3 separate regions of the Homo sapiens genome follow, and regions 1 and 2 are each linked to region 3. The links are contacts of gene promoters, found by promoter capture Hi-C in human tissues and cell types (Jung and others, 2019). All regions are on one chromosome and are shown on one strand. The core of a region is centred on a gene start or on the middle of the fragment in contact, and the rest is flanking DNA. Distances in the headings are between cores, read along the strand shown. Region 1 holds the start of SPPL3 (signal peptide peptidase like 3). Region 2 overlaps P2RX7 (purinergic receptor P2X 7). Region 3 holds the start of PLA2G1B (phospholipase A2 group IB).

The links. Contacts are between HindIII fragments. The study calls those that stand out against the background at their distance.
Region 1: the fragment with the promoter of SPPL3 here is called in contact with the fragment with the promoter of PLA2G1B in region 3 in 2 of the 25 tissues and cell types used here (mesendoderm cells and small bowel).
Region 2: a fragment that was not itself captured here is called in contact with the fragment with the promoter of PLA2G1B in region 3 in 1 of the 25 tissues and cell types used here (IMR-90 fibroblasts).

What each region holds. Positions count from the first base shown.
Region 1 is chr12:120,903,098-120,906,918 of GRCh38, reverse strand. It overlaps SPPL3 (signal peptide peptidase like 3), which reads left to right and starts at 2,561. Exons shown (of 11, transcript NM_139015.5): 1 at 2,561-3,074. The coding sequence starts at 3,052. XLOC_009911 (a long non-coding RNA gene) reads right to left here and starts at 2,224. Exons shown (of 2, transcript NR_131215.1): 1 at 2,147-2,224. RefSeq lists silencers at 2,362-2,721, 2,802-3,021, 3,162-3,211. The HindIII fragment of the contact is 15,749 bases long and covers 224-3,821 here.
Region 2 is chr12:121,172,684-121,177,023 of GRCh38, reverse strand. P2RX7 (purinergic receptor P2X 7) reads right to left here. Exons shown (of 13, transcript NM_002562.6): 9 at 1,546-1,636. All of the region lies in intron 2 of LOC105370032 (a long non-coding RNA gene), which reads left to right. Among named protein-coding and RNA genes, the nearest start is that of P2RX4, 35 kb to the left of the region's middle. The HindIII fragment of the contact is 8,089 bases long and covers 1-4,340 here.
Region 3 is chr12:120,325,619-120,329,419 of GRCh38, reverse strand. PLA2G1B (phospholipase A2 group IB) reads left to right here and starts at 1,641. Exons shown (of 4, transcript NM_000928.3): 1 at 1,641-1,700; 2 at 3,400-3,559. The coding sequence starts at 1,667. RefSeq lists an enhancer at 3,685-3,744. The HindIII fragment of the contact is 11,861 bases long and covers 1-3,801 here.

The sequences.
Region 1 (3,821 bases), core at 1,312-3,811, 580 kb before region 3:
AGCCTGAGTGACAGAGCAAGACTCTGTCTCAAAAACAAACAAAAAAAGTAATTAAATTAAAAAAATTTTTTAAAAAAGAATTTAGCCCCTTTGCCTTCTCATCTCCCCTTAATATCCCTGCATCTGGTGGGTTTATGGCTGGACAGATCTTTGCAGGCCAGTGTCTTCTTGTGAATAGTGAGACTAAGGGTCCCTGGTGATTTGATATTTTCTTGTTGCCCTGCCTCAAACCCTCCCCTGGACCTCGATCTTTTTTTTTTTTTTTTTTTTTTGAGACGGAGTCTCACTCTGTCGCCAGGCTGGAGTGCAGTGGCGTGATCTAGGTCCACTGCAACCTCCACTCCCCGGTTCAAGCGATTCTACTGCCTCAGGCCTCCCAAGTAGCTGGGACTATAGGCATGGGTCACCACGTCCAGCGAATGTTTGTATTTTTAGTAGAGATGGGGTTTCACCATGTTGGCCAGGATAGTCACGACCTCTTGACCTCATGATCCACCTGCCTTGGCCTCCCAAAGTGCTGGGATTACAGGCGTGAGCCATCGCGCCCGGCCTGGACCTCAATCTCATCAGTGAGCCTTTTCCCAGGGCTCTCTGATAGAGCTTTGGAGGAAACACTTGGAACCTAACTGGTCCTGGCACCTGGCAGTGGGGGAATAAGGAAGGAGAGCTTTGCTTCTGAAGGGAAAGTGTACTTGGCTTTCTCTTTAAAGGGTTTCCCTTGGGGAACAGGCAAGCGGCAGATGTATGGGCAATGGCCAACTGATCCATTTGGAGATAGATTCAGGGTGTGGTGTTCCCTGTAAGCCTGGGCAGGCCCTGGGAAACTGGAGCAGAGCTAAATTCTGGCCTAAAGTTGGGCAAGCTGCAGAGAAGCTTGAGTACGTTGGTTTCAGGTGTGTGAGTTTTGCCTTCTGCAGAGAAACAGGGGGGTGAAGGGTGGGGGTGGAGGGGTGTCCAGGAGGGTTAGTGTATCTGTTGCCCAGGCATGTTTCTAAATTCTGAAGCTGCACTGGTTAATCATTTTTATTCATGAACACAGTAACTGGCAAGGAGGCTTAGCTGGGCCCTCAAAGTCTGGCCTCAGTGCACCTTCTCAGTATATTTTCTCAACACTCCAGCACAAATCACCCATCCCACTCTCGGATTCAAGCTCACCAGGAATTGGGCCTTACTTCATGCCATTCTTTCTTTCTAGAATGCCTTTTCTTTTTTTTTTTTCTTTTTCTTTTTCTTTTTCTTTTTTTTTTTTTGAGACAGAGTCTCGCTGTTGCCCAGGCTGGAGTGCAGTGGCGCAATCTCGGCTCACTGCAAGCTCTGCCTCCGGGGTTCACGCCATTCTCCTGCCTCAACCTCCTGAGTAGCTGGGATTACAGGCGTCCACCACCACGCCCGGCTAATTTTTTGTATTTTTAGTAGAGACAGGGTTTCACCGTGTTAACCAGGATGGTCCCGATCTCCTGACCTCATGATCCACCCACCTCGGCCTCCCAAAGTGCTGGGACTACAGGCGTGAGCCACCGCGCCCGGCCAAAAGAATGACTTTTCTTTGATAAGCCTCTCACCCTTTCAGACGGCCTCATCCACTCCTGGGGAAGCATTCCGCAGTACCTGGGGCCTCAATTAATCTCTCTCTTCTCTCTCCATCTAAGCTCCAGATTCACTTTGTTGGTCTCTGGTCTAGCTCTACCGTGTTTATTTCTGTGCCGGTTTCCAGACCTCCAAATGGACGGTTTCCTGAGCCTTCTGCCCTTGCTGTTCCCTCTGCCAGGAACTCTTTTCCTGTGGATCTTTGCAAGGCCAGCTCTCTGTCATCATTCAATATCAGCTCAAATGTCACCTCCTAAGCGAGGCCTTCCTTGACCACCCTATCTAAAGTAACCCACACCTCTGCTCACTCTCTGTCCCCTCACCTTGTGTTACAAAATGTGTTTTTGTAAAACTTAGCAGCATCTGAAATTATCTTATTTGTGGGCTTGGACTATGTCTCTTCCTTTAGAATGTAAGCTCTAGGAAGGCAGAGTGAGTTGACACATGGTTGGCACCCAACAAATATCTGTTGATTGATTCTGTGAAGGCAAGCGTGGGGTATTCGACTTGGTGCCGGGCCTGGGCGCAATAAAGGTTGGCTGCCTGGAATATTTGCTACCTGAATGAATGAACCAAGGAACATACGAACGAAGGAATGCAGCCCTCTGCCTGTTGACTGACAGGTTGACTGACAGTTGGGGGGCCCGTGGCCAGCAGACTGTTGACTGACGGTTGACAGCTGAGTGGCAGCCAACAGACGCGCATCGGGGTTCCCGATTGGCTGGTGCAGCAGCCCCTCGGAGAGGGGCGGAAGAGGGTACCCGAGGCGACATCTCCGCGTGGGGAGGGGGGCGGCACCAGGCAGCGGGAGGCGGCCCAACTGCTCTGGCTGTGCGAGCAGCAGCCGCCTAGAACCCAGGAGCCGACGTCTCTGCGCATGGGCCCGGCTCGAGGGGCGGGGCGCGCATCACGTGAGCGTGTTTTGGGCACGTGACCCGCGCGGGGCCAAGGCTCGCCCCCGCCCCCGCCCCTCCTCCCCTCGGCGGGTGTGATCGAGTGGCCTCGCCTCATCGCCTAGCGCCCCCCTCAGTCGCCGCCGCCTCCGCCCGCCGGCCATGTCCCCCGGCCGCCGCCGCCGCCGCCCGAGCGCGGCGCTCCCGCGGCCCCGCGCGCAGTGAGCGCGGGCCCGTCTTGCCGTTCGCCCGCCCCAGGGCCCCCTTGTTCTCCGCGCCGCCGCCGCCGCCATGTTGGGTTTGGAGCTGCAGCGGAGCCGCCGCCGCCGCCGCGGGTGAGGGAGGCCGAGAGCGGAGCCCGCCCCGCCCCGGGGCCCAGGGAGCGGGGCCGCTTCGGAGCCCGGCCTCTCCCCGCCAGCCGCCTTCCCGGCCCGCCGTGCAGCCAGCGAGCCAGCGAGCGAGCAAGCAAGCAAGCACCGGACCCCGGCCGCGCCTTCAGCTACGGCCCGAGCGAGCCCGCCGCCGCCGGGCCCGGCCACAGCCTGCAGCGGAGCCCACGAGAGGCAGCGCCATGGCGGAGCAGACCTACTCGTGGTGAGTGCGGGGCTCCGGGAGGCCGGGAGGCGGCAAGGGTGGGGGTCGGGGCGCCGGCGCGGCCCGCCGAGGGGAAGAGGAGGAAGAACAGGTGCGTGTCGTGGGGGGGGGGCGCGGGTTGGGGTGCACGCCCCCCTCTTCCCCACCGGAGGGGGCGGCTGGCGCGCACGGAGGGCGGTGAGTGGCCGGGGACCTGGCGTCCGAGAAGGGGAATGGAGGAGGAGGCAGCGGCGGATGTCATCTGGCTATGGGCGGAGCAGGTGATGGAGAAGGGGAGCATGACCCCGGGGGTGGGAATCCCACGGATGGGAAGTTGAATCCGACAGGCACCCCGGAACTGACTCGTGGGGGTGTTTCCTGGGCAGGAGGACTCGAAGGGGTGGAGAGAGGCAGGCCAGGGCAAAGGTGGGCCGCTGGGCTGAGAGGAAGCTCTAGTGAGAACAGGTGATAGAGGCAGAACTTCTAAGTTGGGAGAGTGGAGCGGCCGCCGCTTGGCTCTGGGACAGGGAGCGCAGGGAGAGTTGGTGAGGTGGGCAGAGGCCCGGGAGTGAGGGGAGGAAAACTGCGGGGGTAGAGTCCACGAACCTTGGAGGGGAGTCACTGGTGAAGAGGTTGGAAGAGGAGCCTGAAGAACCTGTTTCCTTTTCCTTCTGGAAAAGGAATTCGTTGGTGACAGTGGGGCATGGGCAGAGTCTTTGTAAGGGTTGGTACTATTATTTTCAGAGGAATGGCGCCCAGGGCCAAGTG
Region 2 (4,340 bases), core at 95-2,594, 850 kb before region 3:
AAGTGCTGGCTGAGGCAGAGACTACGCAGACTGAAACTGACTCTCAGGCATCCTGCTTCAGCCGTGCAGGGTGTGCTTGGACCCATAAAGGTTTTACATGAGCAAGCACTGGGGCCCACACATTAAGGGGAGACCCACTGAAGGGCTATCATTTCTCCATACAAGGTGAGGGTTTCAGACAAGCTTCTCCTCCAAAAGGTTTGACATTACTTCAGAAGCAGAGGGAAGGAATGTCTGGGTGGCCTCGTGGGTTTTTTTTTTTTTTTTTTTTTGAGACAGAGTCTCGCACTCTTGCCCAGGCTGGAGTGCAGTGGCGCAATCTCGGCTCACTGCAAGCTCCGCCTCCTGGGTTCAAGAGATACTCCTGCCTCAGCCTCCCAAGTAGCTGGGATTACAAGTACCCACCGCCACGCCCAGCTAATTTTTTGCATTTTTAGTAGAGACAGGGTTTCACCATGTTGGCCAGGCTGGTCTTGAGCTCCTGACCTCATGATCCACCTGCCTCAGCCTCCCAAAGAGCTGGGATTACAGGCATGAGCCACCGTGCCCGGCCCAGCCTTGTGGTTTTTATTCCCAGCGGTCTTTGCATTCTCTCAGCTATATCTTATTGCTTCTAGTCCTGCTTATCACTGTCTTACATAGATAACATGCTCTTGGACAGGATGTCGTGGGATATGTTGATTTTTGCATAGCTGGCATCTTTTCCTTCCATCTTCAGAAGGCAACACTCCAATTTTCTTTTCAGTCCATGTAGTGTGTGTGTGTGTGTGTGTGTGTGTGTGTGTGTGTGTGTGTTGAAGGGGCTGGGGTGTTGGCCTCTCTGCTGGCCCCTGGGCTAGGTTAGGGCTGGTTCGACACTAACCACTGGGAGTATGGCATGACCCTGGTCACAGTGATTAGTTCAGCAGTGGGCATGTCATCCATAGTGGGCCAATCAGAGCCAATGACATTTGTCTGAGACCTTTGCTGAACCTTCTGGCAAAGAGGTGTTTTCTTTTCACTGAGGTTGCTAAACTGGTCAGATCGAAGGTGCTGCCTGATACCTTCATAGAGAGATGGCTGCCAAGACCAAGGAGGACGTATATAAGACACGGAAGGTGGCAAGTTCTTGATGATGATGTTGTTGTTTGAACACCTGGATCCAACCATGCTTGTAGCTTAAAAATAACCCCTGGATTTTTTCAGTTACGTGAACCCAAAAAAGCCCACTCAAAACTTTTTTTTTCCCCTTAAGCCAATTTGAATTGGATTCTGTTACTTACAAACTATTTTACAGAGAGATTTCTTTCTCTCTCTTGTTAAGTATCAGAGTATTTTTAAAGCCGAATGTTAGAATTGCTTTCCAGGCCCACTCCTGTACTCGTCAGATGACTCATTCAGGGACAGCAGCCCGAGAACATCTTCTTCCTCTTTTATCCCATGTGCGAAATGCCCAGTGCTAGCTGAAGGCTGAGACCAAAACCCTTCCCTCCATGGAGGCCCCACAGCAGTAATTAGGACACAGTCATAGGATGCCGGTGCCCGGAGCTGGGAAACGAGACTTACGGTGCCAAAAACCAGGATGTCAAAACGGATCCCGAAGACTTTTATCAGAGTCCGTTTCTCAACATTGTTTTCCTTGTAGTACTTGGCGTATCTGTAGGAAGAAAAGGATCTGTATTTGTAAGATCCCTTTGAAAGTGCTGGGTTTTGGGTTTTTTTTTTTTTTTTTTTGAGACAGGGTCTCACGCTGTCACCCAGGCTGGAGTGCAGTAGCAGGATTACCACTCACTGCAGCCTTGACTTGCTAGGCTCAGATGATTCTCCCACCTCAGTCTCCCAGGTAGCTGGGACTACAGGCATGCACCACCGTGCTCGGCTAATTTTTTGTATTTTTTGTAGAGACGGGCTTTTGCCATGTTGCCCAGGCTGGTCTCGAACTCCTGAGCTCAAGTGATTTGCCTGCCTCAGGCTCCCAAAGTTCTGGGGTTACAGGCATGAGCCACTGCATCTGGCAAAAAATGCTGGTATTTTATGGAAGGAAAAGCCAAAACAGTGGCCTGTCTAGTCCTCCTGGTCTGTCCCCTGGCTCTGTGACAGGTGGCAGGGGAAGGAACACAATCCAAAGCCCTGGGTCTCTCTCCAACCACCTGGAACCAAAGAGCAGTCCCCCCTCCCCATGTCACCACCTGTACCTGCATCATCTCAGAGTGACGGAAAATCAGCTTGTCGCTTAAGATTAAAATGCACATTTTAAACCAACACAGGATTAACAACAAGCAGAGAAATTAAAAAAAAAAAACTTCAAGCAATATGACTATTCCTTAAGGGGGAAGAAGAGGTTTGGCATCTAGAACAAAGTGGGAGTGGGCGGTGGTAAATCTTGCATACTAATTACTGGACTGGAGACAGGCACACCTCAGCAAACTGTATTTTCTTAGATTCTGTGTATGCCTATTTGGCAATCATTAATCACAGGGCCAAACTAAAGGCTGAAGTTGTGTTTTTTGTTTTGTTTTGTTTTGAGGTGGGGTCTTGTTCTGTCACCCAGGTTGGAGAGCACTGGCATGATCAGAGCTCACTGCAGCCTCCACCTCCTGGGCCCAAGTGATACTCCCACCTCAGCCTCCCAAGTAGCTGGGTGGGACTACAAGCGTGCACCACTACAGGTGGCTAATTTTTATTTTTAAATTTTTTGGTCGGGCACCGTGGCTCACACCTGTAATCCCAGCACTTTGGGAGGCCGAGGCGGGTGGATCACTTGAGGTCAGGAGTTCAAGACCAGCCCGGACAACATGGTGAAACCCCATCTCTACTAAAAATACAAAAATTAGCCGTGCATGGTGGCAGGCACCTGTAATCCCAGCTACTCAGGACGCTGAGGCACGAGAATCACTTGAACCCAGGAGATGGAGGTCACAGTGAGCCGAGATCGTATCACTGCGCTCTAGCCTGGGTGACAGAGCAAGACTGTCTCAAAAAAAAAAAAAAAAAAAGAAAAGAAAAGAAAAAATAAAAAAGTTTTTTTCAAAAATGTTTTGTAGAATCAGGATCTCATTCCTTCAACCAGGCTGGAGTGCAGTGGTGTAATCATAGCTTGTTGCAGCCTTGAACTCCTGGCTTCAAGCCATCCTTTCATCTTGGCCTCCCAAGGCTGAAGTTGTTTACATCTCCTCTGCAATCCAGCTTTTGTGAGGGTGTGAAAATCATATTACAAACCCTCCAACCAATCCCTCAACCACCTCCTTTTCTAACTCTCCAGTATTTCTCCTTAGGGACAGGTAGGGTGAGGGCCAGACATTTAGAGACCATTCCTGTAACTCAGAACCTACTGGCATTATTCAAAGTAGTTAACCCTAAGCTGTTTCCCTAGTCCTGCCTTGCCCTTCCACTGAGTAACACAATAAAGCTCTGGACCATTCTTTACCCTTTATTCTGCCTCTTGAGCGGATCTGGTACTTCCTCCTGTGGCCCTGTCTAGCATGGCATGGCCTGGTATGGCCTGGTATGGTGTGGTGTGGCCCCATCTCTTGGGAAAAGTATGTAATAAATTCTTCTTGGCCAGGTGCAATGGCTCACGCCTGTAATCCCAGCACTTTGGGAGGCCAAGGTAGGCAGATCACCTCAGGTCAGGAGTTTGAGACCAACCTGGCCAACATGATGAAACCCCATCTCTACTAAAAATACAAAAATTAGCTGGATGTGGTGGCAGACGCCTGTAATCCCAGCTACTCAGGAAGCTGAGGCAGGAGAATCACTTGAACCCAGGAGGCAGAGGTTGCAGTGAGCCGATATCACACCACTGCACTCCGGCCTGAGTGAGAGAGTAAGACTGCCTCTCAAACAAACAAACAAACAAACAAACAAAATATTCTTTGAGTGGCATTGACCTCTCTCTGTCATCACTCAGTACTAACTTTAAAAATTAAGCGCCAGGCACAAATCATCACAGTCACCCGTGATATGCAACCCTCACCAGTGCTGCAGTCAGGAAAAGTGGTGTGTTTTGTTTTTCAAGAATAATTAAGGAGGCTTAAAATGAACGCTTCATAAAACTTTTAAATCTGCCCCTTCTTCTCACCACACTTTGATGATTCTTTTTAGATAAAGTTACATATACATGTTTATTTTTTCTGAGTTATTAATTCACCGTCTAGTTACAAGATGTAGGGAGAGAAGAAAGCAGATGGCAGATGTTCTGCCAAAAAATAGTAAGAAACATCTGAAACTGTTTTTAAAAAACCTCTCAAAACCTGACATTGAAATCGATCAGATATTCTCAGGCACTTTAGTGGCTCTTTCTGACTGGAGGGAATTCAATTTCTTTGCATGTGACTATTTCAAGAGAGCTTTTTCTCTTG
Region 3 (3,801 bases), core at 392-2,891:
TGGAGTGATAAAAATGTTCTGGAACCCCATAGAGGTGATGGTTGCACAACACTGTGAAGGTACTAAATGCCCCCGAATTGTTTACTTAAACGTGGTTAATGTTATGTGAATTTCAGCTAAACAATGTTATGTAGATATTTGGCCGGGCGCGGTGGCTCACGCCTGTAATCCCAGCATTTTGGGAGGCCGAGGCAGGTGGATCACGAGGTCAGGAGATCGAGACCATCCTGGCTAATGCGGTGAAACCCCATCTCTACTAAAAATACAAAAAAAAAAATTAACCGGGCGTGGTGGTGGGTGCCTGTAGTCCCAGCTACTTGGGAGGCTGAGGCAGGAGAATGGCATGAACCTGGGAGGCAGAGCTTGCAGTGAGCCAAGATCGCGCCATTGCACTCCAGCCTAGGCAACAGAGCAAGACTCCGTCTCAAAAAATATATATAAATAAATAGATATGTGATGTGACAGGTTTTTTTTTGAGATGGAGTTTTGCTCTTGTTCCCTAGGCTGGAGTGCAATGGCGTGATCTCAGCTCACCGCAACCTCCGCCTCCAGGGTTCAAGCCATTCTCCTGCCTCGGCCTCCGGAGTAGCTGGGATTACAGGCATAAGCCACCATGCCTGGCTAATTTTGTGTTTTTAGTAGAGACAGGGTTATTCCATGTTGGTCAGGCTGGTCTCGAACTCTCCACCTCAGGTGATCTGCCAGCCTCAGCCTCCCAAAGTGCTGGGATTACAGGCATGAGCCACCGTGCCTGGCCTCTGATATGACAGTTCTAATGCCCTTTAGTATTCTATAATTCAGACTCAGGCCTTTGGAATCCAAAGCCCAGGTTTTTCTCACAAACCCACACTGCAGAGCGGAGTGGTGGAAAAAAATAAAACCTCTGCCTTGGAATCAGACAGATCTAAACTGGAGCCCTATTTTGTCATTTGCCAACTGTGTGACCTTGGGCAAGTTACCGCAACTCTCTGAACCTGTCTCTTTATCTGCAAGGTGCACGACTGATGGGACTATTCAACCAGACCCAGTGCACAGATTCAGGCACTTGATAAGACATTGAGGCTGCAGGCAGCGATCTTTTTTCTTTCTTTCTTTTTTTTTTTTTTTTTTTGAAATAGGGTCTCACTCTGCTGCAGAGGCTCAATCACTGTTCATTGCAGCCTTGACCTCCCTGGCTCAAGAGATCCTCCCATCTCAGCCTCCTGAGTTGCTGGGATCACAGGTGCAATCCACCACCACACCTGGTTAACATTTTTTTTTTTAGAGATGAGGTCTCTCTATGTTGCCCAGGCTGCACTTCCTTCTTGTCTCCCTTATCCCAGCGTCCGACTGAACTGACGGCTTTGCTTTCCCCAACCAGCCCGTGAAGCTGGGCTGAGTACAAAGTGGTGGGTATGAGGGTCAAGATTGTAAGATCTGAAAACTCCAGAAACCATCCCTTTGGTTAACAGTTGCTAAGGACAAATGCATAACATATTTTCCAGTGATCCCATGCTGGCAAATCGTCAGGGTCATTCCTGCAACAGACAGATTCAAGGCCAGCCCCAAACTCAGCCAAGAGCAAAGCAAACACTCCAGCCTTATCTGGGCAGGGTTGTGTGGAGACTGACTATAAGACTATACCTGAGACTGGTCATCTCAGTTCTTTTCTCACCTTGACTGCAAGATGAAACTCCTTGTGCTAGCTGTGCTGCTCACAGGTAGGCAAGTCTCCCCGGCTCCACCCGCCTTTCTCTCCCAAGTGAGCTAAGATCTCACTCCTCTGGAATGGGGGCCACAGGCCACAGCAAACAGGGATGGCCAGCCCCGCAGTCTCAATTCGAGGTTCCCAGTGGGGCTTAAGGGCTCCTCTATTGGGGTTCCCTCAAGGCTGGCACTTTTTCAACCTGCAAGTCTGAACTCAGATTGCCTGAGCTAAGAAAGCTTGCCTTTATTTTCTTTTTTCCAGACAGGGTCTTGCTCTATCACCCAGGCTGGAGTTCAGTGGCATGATCATAGCTCACCACAGCTTCCAACTCGTGGGCTCAAGTGATCCTCCCACCTTACTCAACTAAGTAGTTAGGCCAATCTCCCATTTATTTTATTTTATTTTAATTTTTATTTTTATTTTACTTTATTTTATTTTTGAGACGGGGCTCACTCTGTCGCCCAGGCTGGAGTGCGGTGGCGTGATCTCAGATCACTACAACCTCCATCTCCTGGGTTCAAATAATTCTCTTGCCTCAGCCTCTCAAGTAGCTGGGACTTGTAGCTCTCAAGTAGCTGGCACACACCACCATGCCCAGCTAATTTTTTGTGTGTTTTTTTTGGTAGAGACAGGTTTTCACCATGTTGGCCAGGCTGGGTGACCTCCCTTTTAGATTCTCCTCATCCTGCTCTATTCTTCCCCTTTCTAATGCAGTATCCAGTTTCCTTACTTATCACATTTATTATTATTCTTATTATTATTGAGACAGAGTCTTGCTTTGTCGCCAAGGCTGGAGTACAGTGGTGCGATCTCGGCTCACTGCAAGCTCCACCTGCTGGGTTCACGCCATTCTCCCGCCTCAGCCTCCCCAGTAGCTGGGACTAAAGGCGCCTGCCACCACGCCCCGCTAATTTTTTTGTATTTTTAATAAAGACGGGGTTTCATCGTGTTAGCCAGGATGGTCTCGATCTCATGACCTTGTGATCCGCCTGCCTCGGCCTCCCAAAGTGCTGGGATTACAGGCATGAGCCACCGTGCCCGGCCTTATCACATTTATTATTTATTGTTTTTCTCTCCCACTAGGTTGTAAGCTCCATGAGGTTAGAGATTATTATTATTATTATTATTATTATTATTATTATTATTATTATTATATCTGTTCACTGCTGTATCTCTAGCTCCTAGGACAGAGCCTGGCACATAGTAAGTGCTCAATAAATATTCACTGGATAAACAGTGCAGATAGTTTAAAACTATCTGACCTAGGGAGGCTGAGGCAGGAGAATGGCGTGAACCCGGGAAGCAGAGTTTGCAGTGAGCTGAAATCGTGTCACTGCACTCCAACCTGGGCAACAGAGCAAGACTCCATCTCAAAAAAAAAAAAAAAACTATCAGGCCTAGCTGGGTGGCACATGCCTGTAATCCTAGCTGAGGCGGTAGGGTCCCAGAAGAAGAAGAAGAAGAAAAAGAAGAAGATATATATATATATACACACACACAAAGATATAAACTTTATATATATAAAGTTTTCATTAAAAAAAAAAAAAAACCTCTACCCACTTTCACTTTACCAGGTTCCTGGGTCCAACGGTCTTCAGAGGAGGCAGCTGGCAGGGGTCAGGGAGGCAGCGTGGGACCCGAGGGAGCAGGAAGGCAGTGTGTCCCCGGGGTGCTGGCAGACCGATTTGAACTCTGGCTATGTCTTCTTGCAGTGGCCGCCGCCGACAGCGGCATCAGCCCTCGGGCCGTGTGGCAGTTCCGCAAAATGATCAAGTGCGTGATCCCGGGGAGTGACCCCTTCTTGGAATACAACAACTACGGCTGCTACTGTGGCTTGGGGGGCTCAGGCACCCCCGTGGATGAACTGGACAAGTAAGTGATCCGCCTGCAGGAAAATTGGAGTGCCTGCCGGGGGCGGGGTGGGGCACACGCCAAGGATCTCACGAGGCATACAAAGGGGACTTGCATATCTGCTAAGGATAACATATTTTCACCTCTTGTCAAATAAACAAATATGTTCCAAGAGGACCCTGTAGCGAACGCACCCCGTTAGAGATGGAAACAATGACCGACGTGCAAAACAGTGGGCGATGCTGCCCTCCAGTGGCAGAATG